5 separate regions of the Homo sapiens genome follow, and regions 2, 3, 4 and 5 are each linked to region 1. The links are contacts of gene promoters, found by promoter capture Hi-C in blood cells and fetal thymus (Javierre and others, 2016). All regions are on one chromosome and are shown on one strand. The core of a region is centred on a gene start or on the middle of the fragment in contact, and the rest is flanking DNA. Distances in the headings are between cores, read along the strand shown.

Evidence for each region. The method cuts DNA at HindIII sites, captures the fragments that hold promoters and counts their contacts. A CHiCAGO score of 5 or more calls a contact.
Region 2: a fragment that was not itself captured here is called in contact with the fragment with the promoter of MAST4 in region 1 in 2 of 17 cell types (endothelial precursors and M0 macrophages); the score reaches 6.3 in endothelial precursors.
Region 3: a contact is called between a fragment that was not itself captured here and the fragment with the promoter of MAST4 in region 1, in 2 of 17 cell types (naive B cells and total B cells). The highest score is 6.3, in naive B cells.
Region 4: a fragment that was not itself captured here is called in contact with the fragment with the promoter of MAST4 in region 1 in 2 of 17 cell types (megakaryocytes and M2 macrophages); the score reaches 5.6 in megakaryocytes.
Region 5: a fragment that was not itself captured here is called in contact with the fragment with the promoter of MAST4 in region 1 in 3 of 17 cell types (M2 macrophages, M1 macrophages and M0 macrophages); the score reaches 6.3 in M2 macrophages.

Annotation. Positions count from the first base shown.
Region 1 is chr5:66,594,635-66,598,394 of GRCh38, forward strand. It overlaps MAST4 (microtubule associated serine/threonine kinase family member 4), which reads left to right and starts at 1,759. Exons shown (of 29, transcript NM_001164664.2): 1 at 1,759-2,384. The coding sequence starts at 2,022. RefSeq lists silencers at 1,395-1,594, 2,205-2,344, 2,355-2,504. The HindIII fragment of the contact is 7,618 bases long and covers 1-3,760 here.
Region 2 is chr5:66,347,171-66,350,930 of GRCh38, forward strand. It overlaps LOC105379003 (a long non-coding RNA gene), which reads right to left. Exons shown (of 3, transcript XR_948380.3): 2 at 2,226-3,760; 3 at 261-711. Among named protein-coding and RNA genes, the nearest start is that of LINC02065, 140 kb to the left of the region's middle. The HindIII fragment of the contact is 978 bases long and covers 1,595-2,572 here.
Region 3 is chr5:66,375,051-66,378,810 of GRCh38, forward strand. All of the region lies in intron 1 of LOC105379003 (a long non-coding RNA gene), which reads right to left. Among named protein-coding and RNA genes, the nearest start is that of LINC02229, 130 kb to the right of the region's middle. The HindIII fragment of the contact is 1,567 bases long and covers 1,011-2,577 here.
Region 4 is chr5:66,782,115-66,785,874 of GRCh38, forward strand. All of the region lies in intron 2 of MAST4 (microtubule associated serine/threonine kinase family member 4), which reads left to right. Among named protein-coding and RNA genes, the nearest start is that of MAST4, 190 kb to the left of the region's middle. The HindIII fragment of the contact is 1,080 bases long and covers 1,177-2,256 here.
Region 5 is chr5:66,760,389-66,764,148 of GRCh38, forward strand. All of the region lies in intron 2 of MAST4 (microtubule associated serine/threonine kinase family member 4), which reads left to right. Among named protein-coding and RNA genes, the nearest start is that of MAST4, 170 kb to the left of the region's middle. The HindIII fragment of the contact is 925 bases long and covers 1,644-2,568 here.

The DNA.
Region 1 (3,760 bases), core at 509-3,008:
CCACTGTGCTCTCTCTTTAGCCTTGCTCTCACAACTTAGCTGCCACTAGACTTGACCTTTTGCCTCAGCAGGTCTTCATATCCCTGTGAATAATTCAGAAGCGTCACAATGAAAGCCTGACAACCGGAGTCCATTTTGCAGTATGGCTGTCTGAAGCAAGATAGACAAAACGTATTTCCTTCCCCTTCATCTTGAGGGGAGGAAACTGATCAGGACAAAGGTTGCTGTCCAATATGATGAAGCCCTCTGTGTGATGTATCACTTGTAAATACCATGATAGCATGAAAGGCTCATTAGCTGAAGGGGCTTTCAATTAGGGTCCTCCAGTTTTTAAGGACCTTTGGCAAGGCTGCTCTGACAAAGAGAAATCTAAGATGCTCAAGGACCTGCTACTGTTTTTCTGTAACTCTTTCCTCTTCTCCCTCACACATTTTTCCTGTATCACTTATCACAGCTTCTAAAATGGATAAGGGAGCTATATTATGCAGTATCAATCTCTCGCTTGACCATAAGCTGCTCAAGGGCAGGGGACCTGACTTATTAATCTTTGTATCCCCTGCACCTGGCACACATCTCCATCAACGTACATGGAACTGAGGCGGTTGAATTTACATCCCAGGTCACTGTGCCAGAGCTCAGAATGGGACTAGAGCTGAAGGCAAGAGAGGAATCATTTATTTCCCACTGCTGAGCTGAGTGCTGGCTTCCAAGGAAATTCCAGTCACCGGACAGGCAGCATCCTCCAGCCCCAGGGAAGGACTTAAGGGTACTCTATTGGTACCTTTAGTGAAAGTTCTTTCTCCTAGTTCTTAGAGGTAAGGAAAATGAAGCAACCTGTCCTGTATCCTGTTGGTTTACAACCCAGGGCTAGGAGAATGTACATTGGAAAGTGAATCCTTTTCATCCTCTGCTTAGCTGATCATACCGAGACAGACAATTTGAGTAGGACTACAGAGCTTGGTCCTAATTAAATACAAGGACATACTTTTTTATCTTCCTCCCTATCAAAAGGTTCAAGTCTCAGACTTAACTTTTTAGTTTACAAACAGAAATAAAGACAGGAAATAGTCTTTTAAAAACGCTCCGTGTATCCAAGCCAGGCACTTTGCTGATGCATTATATATATTTGCTCTAAGCCTGCCAAGACCAGTAGTAATGTAGCCATTTACAGTTGAGGAAACTGAGGCCCAAAGAGCTTAAACGGAAAAGCAGAGATTAGAGGTCACTCCCCTTTGGGTCCGCTCACTATACCACGAAGTTTCTGTCCTTTTCCTCCAACACGCTGGTGAGTCCGTGTGCGTGGGTGACTGTGTGTGTGTGGTTCCTTTTTTCCCTATAGAGCCCTCCTTCTTGTCCGTTTTCTTGATTCCACTTTTTGGAGACAAAGTCCAGTTCTTCTCCAAGGTCTCACCATCCGCTCGCCGTCTCCCTCTGACGTCCCAAGGACGGTCAGCCACTCCCCCGCTAAGTTCGGAGTCTCAGCCCTTGGCTCCGATTCTGGGCTCCGCCCCCACCCTCCGGGGACCCCCGCCTGGTCCCTGTCCCCTGCGCCCAGGCGCTCCAGCGGGACCACGGCCCGCGCCCGGGCCCCGCCTCCCCTACCTGAGGCCCTCATGGCCGGAGGCGTCGCAGCCTCCGCCCACCAGCGCGCCTGCCCTGCCATTGGCTCTGCGGGCTGCCCGTCTCCTTGCTCCGTCCCGGAGGCAGGTTTTGCAAGGAGAAGCCGCAGTACCCGCGGCTCGGGTGCAGCGCGGGAGCACAGTGGAGCGCAGATCGCGGACCCGAGCGGGCATGTCCCCGCGCGCGGGAGCCTCCGTTTGCGGCCGGGCCCGGGCGGCTGTGAACTTAGCAGCGGGCTCCTGCGGCCCCGTCACTGCCATGTAGTCGCTGGCGGGGCTCCCTGCAGCCCGGGAGCGGCAGTGCCAGTGAGCCTGAGCCCAGGAGCCCGCGTCTTCCCCGGGAGGCGCTGAGTGCGCGCCGCGCCCCCGCCGCTCGGGAGGCACTTTGGGCCAGACAGGGAAATGGGGGAGAAAGTTTCGGAGGCGCCAGAGCCGGTGCCCCGCGGCTGCAGTGGCCACGGCAGCCGGACTCCAGCCTCTGCGCTGGTCGCCGCGTCCTCTCCGGGTGCTTCCTCGGCCGAGTCCTCCTCGGGCTCAGAAACTCTGTCGGAGGAAGGGGAGCCCGGCGGCTTCTCCAGAGAGCATCAGCCGCCGCCGCCGCCGCCGTTGGGAGGCACCCTGGGCGCCCGGGCGCCCGCCGCGTGGGCTCCGGCAAGCGTGCTGCTGGAGCGCGGAGTCCTTGCGCTGCCGCCGCCGCTTCCCGGAGGAGCTGTGCCGCCCGCGCCCCGGGGCAGCAGCGCGTCCCAGGAGGAGCAGGACGAGGAGGTGGGCCTTTCCCCAGCTTGCCCACTCTGGGTTCCGGCAGCCGGGCGACCGTAGTTTCCCATCCTGCGCACAGGCAGTGGGCAGGAGAGCGCTGTGGCCTGGAGATAGGGAGGGACCCCAAGCGCTCTGCCCCGAGCACGGGACAACGATAGTTAGGAGCCCCCCTGTGGGTTATTGACTTCCCTGTGGCTGTTACCCCCGTGTGTGTGTCTCAGTGTGCTGCCTGATGGTGTGTTTTTAAAATGTCAGAGAAGCAAACTCCTTCGTGTTTGTATCTGACTTGGTTGATCTGTGAAAGGATGCGATCTGGACATCTGGCGTGTCCCCACAACTCACCTCTGATTCTCCAAAGTGGGCGTTGTTTCCCACCGAAGCGCTTGGGCCGAGGGGCAGGGAGTTGAGGGGGAGAAATGGTGCCTTGGGGGTAAGAGGCAGGAGTAGGGTGGGGGGCAGCGGTAGCCGCGGAGTTGCCTGCGGAGGTTTCAGTGGCGCCAGCCCCCTGGGATCGCCCGCGGGTGGTTTTGGCGCGTCCCCGCAGCGTCGGTCCTCTGGGAGAAGAGGACTCCCCGCGCTCCCTCGGTGGCGCTGGCGTGCGCGCCTGCAGCTCCCGTTCAGACTTGTTTCCAGCTTGTCCAGATGAACGCTTGTCACCAAACCGAGTACAGATCGTCTTACCTTTTGCGGGGCGGAGCGGGGTGGGGGATCTGTATCTGCCCAGTTTCCTGGAAGGATGTTCCTCCAGAACTTGTGGGTCGCTTCCTGACACACTGAGCATAGGACTCTGGTGTCCTTCTGGCTGCTCTGTCCGGCTTATTTTCTGCTTTTGGAGGACAGTTAAAGAAGTGTACAATTCTTCACGTCTCAGAGCCAGACTCAGTTTAAAAAAAAAAAAGATTGTTTGCTTTGGACGTTTCTTGTGGGGAAGTCATCTTGATCAGGCAGGGCCACAAATAAAACATCACCTTAACATAGACTTATTGTGAAATTAATTCCTGAGTGCCAGTGTTGTATTTTCCTCATCTTGGATGGGGTTAGCTTTAGTAAATAATTGCCTTTGTCCCTTAGAGTAAGCAATCAGAGGCCCCCAGCCTGGAAGCAAAAACTGGATGTGGCACAAGGTTGAGAGGAGGCGAGTCCTAGCTTGGCAGAGATGGAACAAGCCTTAGCTGCTTAGCTGGTTCTTGGCCAAGCCACTTGCAGTAACCATGACCCATTCCCTAATTCCCCTAAGCCCCCATTGCAAGGATCCTGGATAAGGGTCTGGAGGCCTGCTTTCTAGAACTGCCTCTGCTACTGAGTGGTGAGACCTTGGGTATATCATTTCACTCCTCTGAGGTTCAGTTCCATAATCTGTAAAAGGAGGAGCTTCAAGGTAA
Region 2 (3,760 bases), core at 834-3,333, 250 kb before region 1:
GGCTAAAAAAAGCAGTTCAGGGAACCTGGGTAAGAGAAGCCTGCGTTCCTTAGCCTGTATTCACTGAGGAGGGAGAGAAGAGGTGCAGTCTACACAACTGGCTGGAGGGGAAGGGTTGGTCTGAGACATGGGCCTGGGAGTGGCAGTTTCACTCCCTCCTCTGAGTCCTCTGCACATCGTGGCTGTACAGTAGGATGATTTACTCACCTGACGATCTCCTCCACTGGGCTGTGAACCCTTGCAGGGAAGAACTACCATGTTGAGCTTTTGTGTCCAGCATCTGGTAGGGTGCCCTGGGCATATCCATGCTAGCAAGCTGGCATCATGGGATTGTGCGAAGCAATGCCTACCAAATTTCCGTTTAATACGTTACAGTTTTCAAGGCTTTGAGATATTTTGAACGTGAAATAATAAATGCTACTACATACCAAGTATTCCCTGACTTAAGTCAGGGCAGGAGCATGGAGCTAGATTTGGGAAATAATTCTGTCCCATGAATCTGCAGGTGAAACATAGATATGGGACAATTACCCTGTAACCCAGGCCAGGGTGATTTTTTAAATACCCAAATTTCTGGGAAATGGCTTCATTCTCTGCTTTAGTCTCAGGGGAGAATGGTTTGACTGTTGGTTTCTGAATCAGATATGGGCTGTACCATCCTGCTTTCCCATGGACAGAAACAGCCTGCTCTCTGGGTTCACCTTCTGAAGCCTGCAATAGAGAAAGGTAATAATGAGTCTCTTTTCTGTACCTGCCTCCCTACTCTCTTCCTCTGTCTTTTACCTTCTCCAGCCTCATCCATACATGAATGCCTGTAACCAAGACAGCAGCTTCCTGAGTGCCTCCAATTTCCCCAGCCTTTTGGGACCACCTTCCAGCTGACAGTGCAATAGAATGGCTTGAATCTTTTTCTTGGGAAGCCTAGTATTCCCCTAATATCTCCAAGAATTATGGATGTCTTTTGTTGCTTCTCTAGCTCCAAGTCCCTGCTTTTAGTGAATTCTTTCTTTATCTTTTCTCATTGTCTTTCCTCCTGTGTATACCGTCCGTTTCTGCACATCATCTCCCCTACAGGGGCACAGCCCCTTCCTTCTCCTTTAATTCCCAGGACAACCATACACAAAAAGCCATGACACCTGGCCGAATTTTGGGGTACTGACTTTACTGAGTACCATTGATTACATTGTCGTATCATAATAACAAATGGTTTTCACAAAGTCAGAGAAAAAAAACCAGATATTATTGGAGCTTCCTCATTTTCATTAGCTCTACTAACCATCATGTTGTTTTGGGTCTTCCAATTTCTTTCCTTCTTCACATCTCTTTTTCCCTTCCCTGAGTTGCTTTATTCCTCCCTTGCAGATTGCCTTTGGAAGCAGACTCAGGAGAAGGACGGGGAGGAGCTGAACTGAGCCAACCCCAGTTATTCTTCTGAAATTTGCCAATCATGGGGTACATTTGCGAAAAATAACTCCCAAGAAGAGGGATAAAAACCAGGGTGGAGAGAGGCCAGGAAAATTCTTCACTGGGAAACTATTCAAAACCTGTTGAAATGTGTTAGTTTCTCATTGTCTATTCTCAGCCCAGCCTGACAAGCTTTCATATCTAAATGTAAAATAGCCAAAAGGAGACTCTGTGATTTCCAGTGCTTCACTGCTCAGATAGTTTCATAAAGTGGATTCCTTCCGCACTTTAGCTGCCACTATCACTCTTTAGATGTTAAGTGTCACATGCCAGCCAGCAGGCAGCTCAAACCGTCACTGTTGGCTTCTGTTTTCATTTATTTCATGACAGCTGTCATTTAAAATCAACATTTATTGAGCACCTAATAATAGGTCTGGGGTAGGAATGGTGGAATATACAAATTTGATTAAGACATGCTCCAAGCCCTCAAGGGAGTCATGCTCTAGCAGAAAATAAACATAAGGTTGTGTTATGTCCTCTAAAGGGCTTTTGAAAAGATTACTGTATACTACCTGTGAAGTAGGGAAGGCAAATGATGACCTGACTTGAAGAATGACACAACAGAAACTCAGAGCTATGAAGTCACTGGTCCAGACTTTCACAGCAAAGAAATGATAGAACCAGAACTAGGACCTGTGGTTTTTGACTCCTGATCTACTCTCCTTCCTTGTATCATAGGCCCACGTTGGGTATATCACATTACCAGAAAGAGAAAAGAATGTTCCGAACGTTATTGGATTCCACATATGGAAGAAACTTACCAGCTCTTGGGAAAAAGAATATGTTGTGGCAGGCAGTAGCTTTCCTCTTTATCTTTTTTCTTAAGAGCTGGTGTCCAAATCCATCAGCCTCAATAAACCATATTGGGATGATTTTCAGGAGAATTGTACTTCAAGGGATGTTTAGCTTTTTCATGTTAGCTAGGTATAAATTCTTGTTTTATGAAAGTTGTTATCCTATTTATGGGTAGATTTCTAAGCAAATATTACTTATGAGAGCTGAATAAAAAATTGTTGACACCCCAGAGTTCAATAAACACTTACTGAAGGTACATAATTAGGCAAATTATATGATAAAGTCTATTTTGATATAATTTACTATTTCTTAAAGCTTATTTATCTTCTACTCGTTAAAGAAAACACAGTGAGGAAGTTGTGAACCATGAGTGTACAAAGTCTGTGAGGTGGTGAAGTCCTAGAAAACAGAGAGGCAGAGCAGACACTAAATCTATTTTCAACATCATCCGAATCAGATTTTCATAGTGAACTGTCATTTTCTTTATGCAAGGCTTTATACATTCCAGAACTGCTGTCAGCCATATTGAAATGTATGCGGACTCTCTCCAGAAACACAAAGCAGAGAAAGGAAGCAAACCTTCATGGCATTACTGAGCTGCTGAACAAACAGCTCTGGAAGACTGCCTTTTTCTGACTTGCTTCCTTATTGTTGGGTCAGGTTGATTTGAGGTTTTTGCATACTTGTAAAACAAAACACCAAAACAAAACAAAACACATTTCCCATTTTAATTGTCTCTTTTACTTTACTCTTTCATTAGCACAAATAAGTGAGAGTTGGACTATTCTGAGATTTCTGTCTCTGATAGTGTCAAAGTTCTTCTGTAGGACTGTACACAGATGATCCAAACATGCGTAGGTCTTTTCCTTGCTGTGATCACAGAAAAATCTATGAAGATTGTGTGTGTGTTAGTTTGTGGGAAAAAAGTCATGGTGATTGATGTAAATTAATCAGCCCCTAGCATGGTTCCTGGCATGGATGCTTGATAGTACTTATTGACTATAGATAAGTATTTATTGACTACTGGGCTATAGACCTCTGATAAATGTAGAATAAATTATTATCTCTCTCTTGAAACTATCACTATGATATTAAACACTTGTCTGCATATGGCTTGTGTGGTTTAAATATGTCTTGTCATATTACTCAGTATTATTTGATAAATAATAGGATTGTTGTTTGAGAAGAATAATAATCGTTACCATTTATTATTTTGTAGGTGTTAGGATCTGTGCTAAGTATTTTGTATATGTTGCTTCATTTCATCTTATTAGAATTCTATAAGGTAGGGATTATTATCCTCATCTTAAAAATGAGGAAATCGAGGCTTTCTTTTGGTGGAAAAGTTCTTAACATAATACATTCAAATGTACCAGTCTTTTTGTTTGTAATCAATCCTGTAAGTGTCTTCTTTAAGAAATCTTTCTCTACCTTAAGGTCTAAAATATATCCACCTTAATTTTCTTCTAAAAGTTTCAATTTTTTTTGACATGTAAGACTT
Region 3 (3,760 bases), core at 544-3,043, 220 kb before region 1:
TTTTTTTAAACTGCTTTTTTGGGGTAGGTTTGTTTGTTACTTTTTAGGTACTCTCTTTACATTTTGCATCCTTTGTGCTAATATGTGAAGAGGACAAGTCTTTACAGGAGGATGTGATCAGGGAAAGCCATGGATGTTAACCTGGGAAATGTCTTATCAGAACTCTTTTTAGATTTCTCTTTCTCTACCCTGAGGACACATCTCACCCCAGTTTTCTGATCTTCCGCAGTTGGGGAGAGCAGATTATCCAGATAGGAGGTCATTGCTGCTCTCAATGCAGCTTCCAACTTACAACTGATTGCTTAAACCTTCTTTATAATAAAAATTCAAAAGTACCAAATGATATAGGTTGAAAAACAAGTCTACCCCTACACTTAGCCCCTTCCCCTGAGGTAACCACTCTTGCTAGTTTTGTGTGTATTCTTCTGGACAAAGAGTCTATAGATGTACAACTCTATAGATGTTCAAATAGTAGTACTGTATATATATGGTTGAGTTTTCTCACTTAACAGTGTATGCTAGCAATTGTTCCGTATTAGCATACATGTTATCTGTCCAGTCTTGTTAATGCCACAGGGTGTTCTTTTGGACTCACTCTCAGGGCTTACTGTTCAAGTTCAGGCATTCTCGGCCAGCAGAAGGTTTCCAAATGTTGAGGAGGAAATATCTTCATTTGTTTTAACTTTTTCCGTGTATTCTTCCACCTCATGAGTGGCTGGAGTTGCCAGGAACCCCTGGAGGCCTAGTGAGGGCCAGCCGTCCTCTTGTTTGCAGAAGATAAAAGGACAATCAGTAATCCCTGCTCATAACTACGCTCGTCCAAGCTTAAAATGCTAGACTAGGAGAAACTTGACTGTGATAGCTTGATGAAACAGGTATTAAATGCGAAAGAAGACTATGTAAGTAAATATGGTACTCTAGAGAGCTTTGTTTTCTCTCTAGTTCCCTTTCCTACAAGAGGGGATGAAAACCTTTAGATACCAAAATGTGTTCTGTTTTAGCATGTCAGAAGCTTGGCTTATACAGCTGGCTTCACTCTGTACCTAAAATGTTTTTCATGAAAACAATATAGTTATATCTGAAACTGGGACAAAAAACAAGTTAACGATATCAGATTGATTAAACAAATAGATTTAAGAAGGGCTGAGATAAGCCATCTGAAGTTTTAACCTCTACAGGAGAGGTTTTTTTTTTTTTTTTTAGATGCAGTCCCGCTCTGTCACCCAGGCTTTAGTGTAGTGGCGTGAACTCTGCTCACTGCAACTTCCAACTCCTGGGTTCAAGCGATTCTCTTGCCTCAGCCTCCCGAATAGCTGGGATTGCAGGCACGTGCCACCATGCCTGGCTAATTTTTTTTGTATTTTTAGTAGAGATGGGGTTTCACCATGTTGGCCAGGCTGGTCTTGAACTCCTGACCTCAGGTGATCTGCCCATCTCTGCCATCCAAAGTGCTGGGATTACAGGCATGAGCCACTGCGCCCAGCCGGGAGAGATTTTAAAAGCAAATCTTGGGTCTGATTTCCCAATTTACATCCATTCATGAGGATAGATAGAAATTTCTCCAGGGGGCTATTTGGAATGCGTTTCCTGGTGAGGTAGAAAGGACTCTTCCCTGTGGTGCTTTCAGCTGCAGGAGAATTCAGTATATTGTCTCCACACAAACCTTCTACACAGCCGTTGGTAACTCTTGTTGATCTGTTGGTTGTTGTGAGAATGGAAATATGGTTGGACATTCTTATTTAAAAGGATGTTTTGGCTAGGCACGGTGGCTCACACCTATAATCCCAGAAGTTTGGGAGGCTGAGGCTGGCGGATCACTTGAGATCAGAAGTTCGAGACCAGCCTGGCCAACATGGTGAAACGTCTCTACTAAAATACAAAAATTAGCTGGGCATGGTGGCGGGTGCCTGTAATCCCAGCTACTTGGGAGGCTGAGGCAGGAGAATTGCTTGAACCCAGGAGGCGGAGGTTGCAGTGAGCCGAGATTGCGCCACTGCACTCTAGCCTGGGCGACAGGGCAAGACTGTCTCAAAAATAAATAAATAAATAAATAAATAAGGATCTTTTATTACATGTATAATATGTGCTTATTATATTCCTGGCATTGTGCTAAGCATTTTATATACATTATCTCATTTAACTTTCACAAACAACATGATTAGATAGAGTCAGACACCTGGGATCAAGTTTTGACTCTGCCAGCCCTAATTCTTGGCAAGATTGTTTAACTTCTCTGACTTTCTTTTCACCTGTATAAGGTGGGGCTAGTGATAGCAGTCACCTGGACAGTTGGGAAAATTAAATGAGGTAATGCATGAAAAGCTCCCAGCAGAGTGCCTGGCGCCTAGTCAGCACTCATAAAATGTCTTTTTATATTTGTATTATTACTCTTATTACTCCCATTTTATAAATGAAGAAACTGGGGCCCATGCAAAGGGTGTCTTTTGCCATGTCACTGAGCCAGTAAAGTGGATCTAGGACCCAGACACTGGTCTGGCTGATGGTAGCGACTGACCTTTTACAGATGATACTGCCTGTCCTCTTCCACATATCTAACATCACCTCTCTGGGGCTCAAAGCTTTCTGGGGATACCCTGTGCCCTAACAAGACAACATGCATTTGAATCTCCTCATACAATAGATGCATTCTCAAAGACTGTATTCATGTTGAGTCCTGTTTTCCCTTGGCCTTCATTATATGAATAATTTTATGATTGTGCCTTTCTTTCTTGCTCAATATTTTCATTCAAAGACTCATGAACACATATGAATCTTAGTTTACTCTCTGGAATCTTAATTATTCTTTCAGAGTTTTTATCCATTTACTGCAAAATGTGCCTTAGCTAGAGTTACTCATAGGAGGAGCTCAGGAGCCATTCAATAAATATTGACTGTGACTAAGAGTCTCACTAACATGTGTCCCTCCACCAATTAGTTATTGCATTCCTAAAATGTTTTGCTTAGAACAAAAGATTGTTTTATGTAAGACCAAGTGGGTATTTACATGAGAGTATTGTTTTTGTTTTGATTTCTTTGAAGTATGCAACTAATTATATCTGGAGACAAGAAGACAGCTTTTTTTATTTTAATGTCCTTTTTAGAAGATAGCTCTCAAAATAAATGAAAGTATAGCTGATACTCATTATTCATGGGAATTATGTCCTATAAAGTCATGATGAACACCAAATTAGTGGGTACTAAACAAGGGGAAATACAGTGTTGAATTCCTGAGCATCTCTGGTCATAATATTTTTGTCAATCAATGAGTACATAACTTTGTTTTAGGTGTATGTCTATTTAAAGATATTTAATATATAGTTGATTCATTAACATTGAACTCATGGCCAATAGCACTAACTCATGCCTGAAGGAAGCTTATCTAACACTGTATTTTCTCCTTAAGGCACATCACAGGCTTGCTACACTCAGGAAAACAGCACTACATTTGAGGACCATTTTAAACAGAGAAATCACCAATACACAGCACAGAAATGCAAAAAATGTTTTTTTCCAGGATGACAAATAGGAAGCAGTGCCAGCATGCCTCTCCCACTTTGAAGGACAGAACAGTGTGTGGAGACTCTCACTGTGAACTTTCGTTCCAAGAATCACCATAGGAACTTACCAGGAAAACCAAAATAATAAACAGATCCTTTGAAATAAGTGGCAAACTCCATGAGACAGGCAAAAAACTTTGAGTTCCCAGAGTGGGAGAGGGGGACAGCCTACCTGTGAGCAAACATCCCCACTGGGGAAATCT
Region 4 (3,760 bases), core at 467-2,966, 190 kb after region 1:
CCTGTCTCTATTAAAAATACAAAAATTAGGCAGGCATGGTGGTGGGCGCCTGTAATCCCAGCTACTCGGGAGGCTGAGGCAGGAAAATCGCTTGAACCGAGAAGGTGGAGGTTGCAGGGAGCCGAGATAATGCCACTGCACTCCAGCCTGGGGGACAAGAGCGAGACTTCGTCTCAAAAAAAAAAAAAAAAGAAAACACATTCTAGGAGAGGTCATATATAGCCTTGATAGAACCAAGGCATGATCTGGGTCTAGATTCAATAATGTATTTATTTTAATGTACATATAACCATACAAGGCTACAGAACTTTCCACTCTAACTCTGTTAACTAGAGGCCCTTTGGCTAAAACAGCAAAAATAACCAGTACAAGAAGTCCATTCAAACAACCCACACCTCTATGGTTGAGACCTGACACGCTCTTGTATCAATCCGTCCAACTGATTCCAGCTTTAATACAGACCTTTATTTATTGCCTCTAAATTTCTAGTCATGCCAGTAGAAAACATTTGATACATGTTTCAATAAGCATAGTAGAATTTTGGAAACATTTTTCCAAAGAACACAGAGCTAATCCAGTTTCAATTGTAACAACAAGCTCAATTTGGTATTAAAATAGAGCAGCCAGATTGCTAGGCAAGCTCACCTCTCATACAACAAATTAGAAATGGTATTATCCATTAATTTCCACCCTGTGTAGCTGAATAATGCCATTGACAGATGCTAATTTTCTTAAATTGTAGGCAGCAAATGATGCATGAATACGACAGCAACACACTTTTTAGAGGCTCTTGATAGTCATCAAAAAGTGAATTTATATAAAGTTTGATGTAATCACTATCAACTGTGTATCATGTTAGTGCCTTCTAATGACTGTCTTAAATCCATCTGTTGTCCTCTTTTCTCTATTAACACTAATGGGGGTCTAGGCAGGAATAAAATATCCCATGTGTTGTATTAACAGACCCTCCAATTTATAACATTCATATGATTCCTCAGGACAAGACCTACGCAAATAACGACATCTAAAATCTAACCCATCATTGCATTATAGGCATTTCATTGTATATGTATGTAAGTGCTTCCTAATTTTTTCCAGTGGTTTAACAAAATTTTATTTCTGCTCACTTTATAATTTAATGTGTGTTGGGTAGCTCTTGGTGTTTCTTATTTTTTAAGCTTATATTTATTGAGTGTTCATTCTATATTTTCTATTTTTAGATTTTACAACAGCCCTACAAGTTTGGCCCTGTTCTACTCAGGAACTTGAGGTTTGGAGAAGTTCATGTTATAAGTGATGGAATCAGTTTGGGAATTTAGAATAGGAACTCAGCAGTCTGACATTAAAGTCAACCACAACTAGAGCAATTAATTTTTACCATTACTGGCAAGGATCTCTCTATCCTGTTGGGCTTAAAGAAGGTGTTATATAAGAATATGGGCTAAGGACAGATCAGTTACTGGATGTCAAAGCCTTGTCTTTTGCGTTAGGCTGTTGAGGTAACAAAGGAATTGAGGGCACACCTTTGGTCTTGTTACCAAGATTGGACTTTCACGAGATGGCCACAAATAAAATGTACATAATCATGTTAAATTGAGTGATTTCAGAGAAGGATGAGATGGCATGCATGCTTGTTCTCAGTGGTCTCTGCTTGCTTTACAATATCCTGTGAGACGTAACAAAACTGCAGTATTGAAAGCGTGGCTCAGAGTGTGGGGAGAGAAAGGGCATGGCTCAGGTGTTCCTTTCTTTGTGTTCCCCAGCAATGGGTGCTGGTTCTGGATTCTGTTCAGAGTCCAACTTCTTATTGAACCATGCTTGGTCTCATTGAGCCAGGGTCCTAGCTTATGAATTTCCTGTACTGAGGCCTTACCTGGGAGTTATGCCTGCTTTGTTCTGCCCTCCCACTGGCAGGGAGCCTTTCCCAGTCCCTGTTGCCTTGACTTTGATGTTGAGATTCCTTGTGGTACCTCTTTGCTCCCATTCCCCATCAAATCTCTCCCCTGGCTCCTTGCTTTTCAACCTAGGACGTAGGAGTCCTCCACGATCACCCAGACCTCTGGGGTCCCTGACCTGGGCCATAGGAACTACCATCTTGAGGAGTTGAGGGAATGTGCTCCTGGCCAGTTTGCCATGCAAGAATACAAAACACATTTTTTGCTAGGAATTATTAAAAGTAATATTATAAAATATGTACAGAAATTAATAGAGAATAATTCTATACAACCCCATATACCTATCAGCCAGCTTTATCAAAGCTTAATATTTGCTACATTCTCCGGATACATTAAAAAATTTCTTATTAAATTTGTTAAAGCCACAAGTCAAAAACTTAATTCTTCATTTACACTTCTAAGTTGAAGTAGCAAACCCTGTTATTCCCTGCTGGTAATTTTTAAAATAATAAAATATGACAGATCTACCATACTCCTCCCTGCACCCACCCCTCATTTTTTCTGCCAGAGATGACTACAATTCTGAATTTGCTGTTTATCACTTACAAGAAGAAATATTAATTGTTTCAATATCTTTCAATATTATTCTTTTGTGTGTGTGTGACCCGGCCTAAGAACCCAGTTACCGTGTTTTATTCTGTTGCTGTGGTGGTGGTGGAGGATGCAGGTCTTACGATAATATGAAGTGTGACAGTACATTGACTGCTTTTCCATGTCCTAGGTGGAGTGACTAAGTGTATTATCTCCTTTCATCTTATCTGCCACTTTGTAAGGTATTATCCCCCTTTTAGAGATGGGAATATTGGGGGCTTGGAACTAAATAAGTTGCTCAACTGCATGTGACTGTAAAAACTGGGTTGCAGATTGAGCATAGCGGCTCATGCCTGTAATCCCAACACTTTGGGAGGCTTAGGCGGGTGGATCACTTGAGGCCAGGAGGCAGAGGTTGCAGTGAGCCGAGATTGTGCCATTGTACAACATGGTAAAACCCCGTCTCTACTAAAAACAAAAATTAGCTGGGCGTGGTGGTGCGTGCCTGTAATCCCAGCTACTTGGGAGGCTGAGGCAGGAGAATCGCTTGAACCTGGGAGGCAGAGGTTGCAGTGAGCTGAGATTGCGCCATTGTACTCCAGCCTGAGTGACAGAGTGAGACCCTGTCTCAAAAAACAAAACAAAACAAAAAACGCTAGGTTGCAGACCCATTTGTGCCTGATGCCAAGCCTGTGGTTTGAATCACTCTGCTCCCATCTTTCCAGGTGCTTTTCTCTTTATAAATAATATATGTTATTTTGTGATTTTTGTATAAATATAGAATCATTCTGTCTTAATTTATAACTTGTTCTTCACCTAAACATATGTGATGAATATTTTCCTGGGGTAGATGGGGCTTTCGAGTCAGAATCTTGATTTTTGCCCATTTGTGTAGCTGTATCCTCTTGCCTAGTTATGTACCTCTCTGGGTTTAGACTGGAGATAATCATACCTATCCCATACGATTGTTAGGATGTTGCAGTACCTGGTATATAATAAGGCCTCAATGTATTTTAGCTATTACTTTATACTTAAAAAGGAAGTTTAAGAAAATTATCTGTTCAGTGGTTTTCTTCCTTTTGAGACTTGATCAGTATTGTTCTAATAGTATGGTTTCCCTGCATTTCAGTCAACAAACATTTATTGAGCATTTACTAAGTGCCAGGCCCTATAACAGGTACTGGGGATACAGAAAAGAATAAACTTATTTCCTCACATCAGGAGAATTATACAGAGACAGTCTAATAATTATTTTGTTTTGTATTATTATTATT
Region 5 (3,760 bases), core at 856-3,355, 170 kb after region 1:
CAGGTGTGAGCCACCGCACCCGGCCAATATCCCCAATTTTAAGTTTATGTTTGGATGGATTTTTGCAAATTTATACCTCAGTTTAACTACTGCCGTGATCAGGATATAAAATGTTTCCCATGCTCTTCCTAGTCAAACCCACCCTCTACTTCCACCCTCAACTCCAAATCCTTGGCCCTAGGCAGCCATAGATCTGCTCTGTTATTATAGATTAGATAGACCTTATCAAGGGGTTTACATTAATGGAAGCAGAGTATCTACTCCTTTGGTCTGGATTCTTTTGCTCAGTGTGATGTTTTTAAGATTCACCCATGTTGTTGCGTGTGTTAGTAGCGTATGTTTAACTTTATAAAATTAGGTTCTAGTGTTCTATACTACTGTAGGATAACTGTAATTAACAAATATATATAATTTCAAATAGCTAGAGGAATGATATTGAATGTTCCCAACACAAAGAAATGATAAATGTTTGAGATATGATGAATATGCTAACTACCCTGATCTGATCGCTATACATTATATGATTGGAACATCACTAGTACCTCATGAATATGTATAAATTATTCTTTGTTAATAAAAATAAAATTAGAAAAGAAACTGCTAAACGGTTTTCTAAAATTGTGCCATTTTACATTCCTGACAGGTATGGATGAACGATCCAATTGCTGTGCGTTCTTGCTAACCTGTGGTATTGCCAGTTTTAAAAATTTTAGCCATTTTCAGTGTTACATAGATGTATCACATTGTGGGTTTCATTTATGTTTCCTTGGTGACTAGATAATCTAGAACACCTTTTCAAGTGCTTATTGGACAATTATTTGTGTCTCGTGAAGTATTGGTTCAATTCTTTCACCCCTTTTTAAATTTCATTGTTAAAATTGAGAAATTTTCAAATCCAGAAAACTCACAAATTATTTTTGACTGCAAAATACCCAAATTAAGATAAGTTAAAGCCTAGCTTTTAAAAGGTAACTCACCACTTAAAATTGTATGTTATTAACTATATACCACTGAAAGCTGGATTTCTGTTATTTCATCAGAGTACTTTTTCCTCTAGATATAAATATTTTCACGGAACTTTGTTTCTTAAAATCCCCAAACAGAGTTTTCTTTCTACATGATGGTCTTGTCTACCAGTTTAAAAATGGCCTGGAAAGTAAGTTGAATTACTCATTTTTTTTTTTTTTGGAGAACTATGGATTTTGACGTTTTGAAGATGAAATTTCTGGGAACAGAAGTGCTACTGCCACATGATTAGTGGAGTCTGGGACATCTGACCCTGTGTGCCACTCTGCTGGAACAAAAGGCCAAACTACCTCAGGCCAAGGGGGAGAAATTCATCAAAAAAACTGCTGCAGTTTAAGGCAAATCTTTTCCCTTGAGTTTACTGATGCTCTTCTAATGCTTGTTAGGATATTTTTCTTTGCTTTCATTTCATAAATGCAGACTATTTGCTTTTTAAAGTAGGAGATCCCAAAGATTATTCTCTTGTAGGTAAGAAAATTAAATCTTAAAGGTTAAAAGACTCATCCTTTTATTTATTAATTTCACTTAGGAAATTTACTTACCTTGATTCAACTATTTTTGATAGATAGGAGGGGCAGTAATTATTCTATCCATTTTTGCTAAAGCAGTTTACATAAAGCTTTAAAATAATGCAAGGGTATGGCTGTTGATCAGATATATGATCTCAAACATGAAATTTGGCCTTTAGCTTTGAAAATAAATAGCCGGACTTGATTCTCTTGTCATAATTTTAACAGCTCTAGCAAGTCAATCCTTAGACAATTAGTTCGCTACACAATTACTTTTGGTAACTAAGTCTTTGGTCAGATAATTTTTTTAAATGTTTAATAGTCCTTAGAAGAGCTAAAAAAAAAATCCATCGAACGTCAGCCTGTTTTTGAAGACAGTTCCTTGAAAATTATATTAGAATATGAAAAAAACATTTTTAATTGTTCCTCTGTATGGTTTAGCTGAAGATTTAATGAAATAATATACACAAAGCAGCTAGCCCAGGCAGCTGTTAGTATTATGTGCATAACTAATTGAATTTGGGGGGATTTGGAGTTGATGGGTGGCATGGGCTCATGGAAATGAGTTTGGTACCCTTATCGACTGGCTTGCTACTTGGTGTTAGGCACTGTGTTCATGTCAGGCTAGTGTCAGATGTTGGAGCACAGAGAAGACAGCATCTTCCCTGATCTTTAAAAAATGTGTTTTCCACTAGTTTTAGGTAACCAAATAATCACATGTGATCTCATCTTGGGACATACCCTGTTGCTAAACTTAAAATAAGTCTTACTGGTTTTTCCATCAGAGGCCCATGCCTGATCTAATCTGTTACTTAACAACTGACCACCTTCTCATTGTTTTACTTTGTTTTAATCCAAGGATCTTTTCTTTGGCAGCATTCTGCTTTCCTTAAAACAAAGATTTTTAGTTTATGGTTGGACAGTTTTGCCAACCAATTATCCTTGATAAGGTTCACTAAACTTTTAGCTTTTTGAAAGGAAGATCTGTGATCAATTTATATATTTATCCCTTATAATGATAGCTAATATTAAAAGCTTACTGTGTAGCAGGCATTGTGTTTAGGGAATTATATTTACTGGCTTATTTAATCCTTATAACATCTGTGTGTGTCTATGAGGGAGACACTGTTAGCTCATTTTACACATGAGAACACTGAGGCACAAGCAGGTTGAGTAACTTCCTTGAGGTCACAGTCCTCACAACAGAAGGCGAGGATTTGAACCCAGGCATCATGGCTCCAGAGTTCATGCTCACAACTGCTACACTGTTCCTAGCATAGTCAGTACCTAGTAGGTTTTAAATAAACTCTTAATTCCAGCAGTATTAACTGGAGTGAATCTTAGGTGGGAAAATTGTTCACTCAGTTAAAATTTGTGGTTGGCTCAATCTGTAGGGCTCCCAGTCGTTTAATTGTAAAAATAAAGTAAAACTAGGCAATTAGTACATATTTAAAACCTTAAAATTCACACATTGGTCGACCCAGAAATTTGACTTCTCAGAATTCATCACAAGGAAACAGTCATATGTCAAGAGAATTAACCTTAGTTATATATAAAGCAGTACCATTTATAATAATTAAAATTTCATATTATCTAAATAGCTGGCAAATGAATACTGCTTAAACATATTATGGTACGCACATAAAATGGAAAACAATTGTAAACATTAAAGGTCATATTATAAAAAATATGTTTTAATATTGAAAGAGACTCACAATATATTAATGTGAAATCCCATTGTTAAATGGTCTCATAGTGTCTCATACTACCTAAGACTTACTGTATTTGTAATTAAATAATTGTATACAGACGGTCCCCCACTTACTATGGTTTGGCTTTTGACTTTTCAACTTTATGATGAGTTTAGTGGGGTATGAAATGCATTATTGACTTAAGATATTTTTTACTTCTGATGGGTTTATCTGGATGTAACCCCACTGTAAGATGAGGAGCATCTGTCTTTACTGAGGAGGAGGAAAACAATTACTTTCTGCTAAGGAATTTTCTCAAATTGGAGTGATGGTTGAGTAGGCTTCCTTTAAAAATGGGCAAGTGAAGGATGCTATGGCCTTTTTTGTACACTGCAGCTTAATCCACGAGATAGTTTTTGAACCCGAGTTTTTCTGTGGCATTTGGTGGTGTATCAGTCAGCAACAGTAATGTTGCATAACTGCAAACATCTCAATGGTAGACAACAAGAAGTATTTTTTTCTTGTTCAGATGGC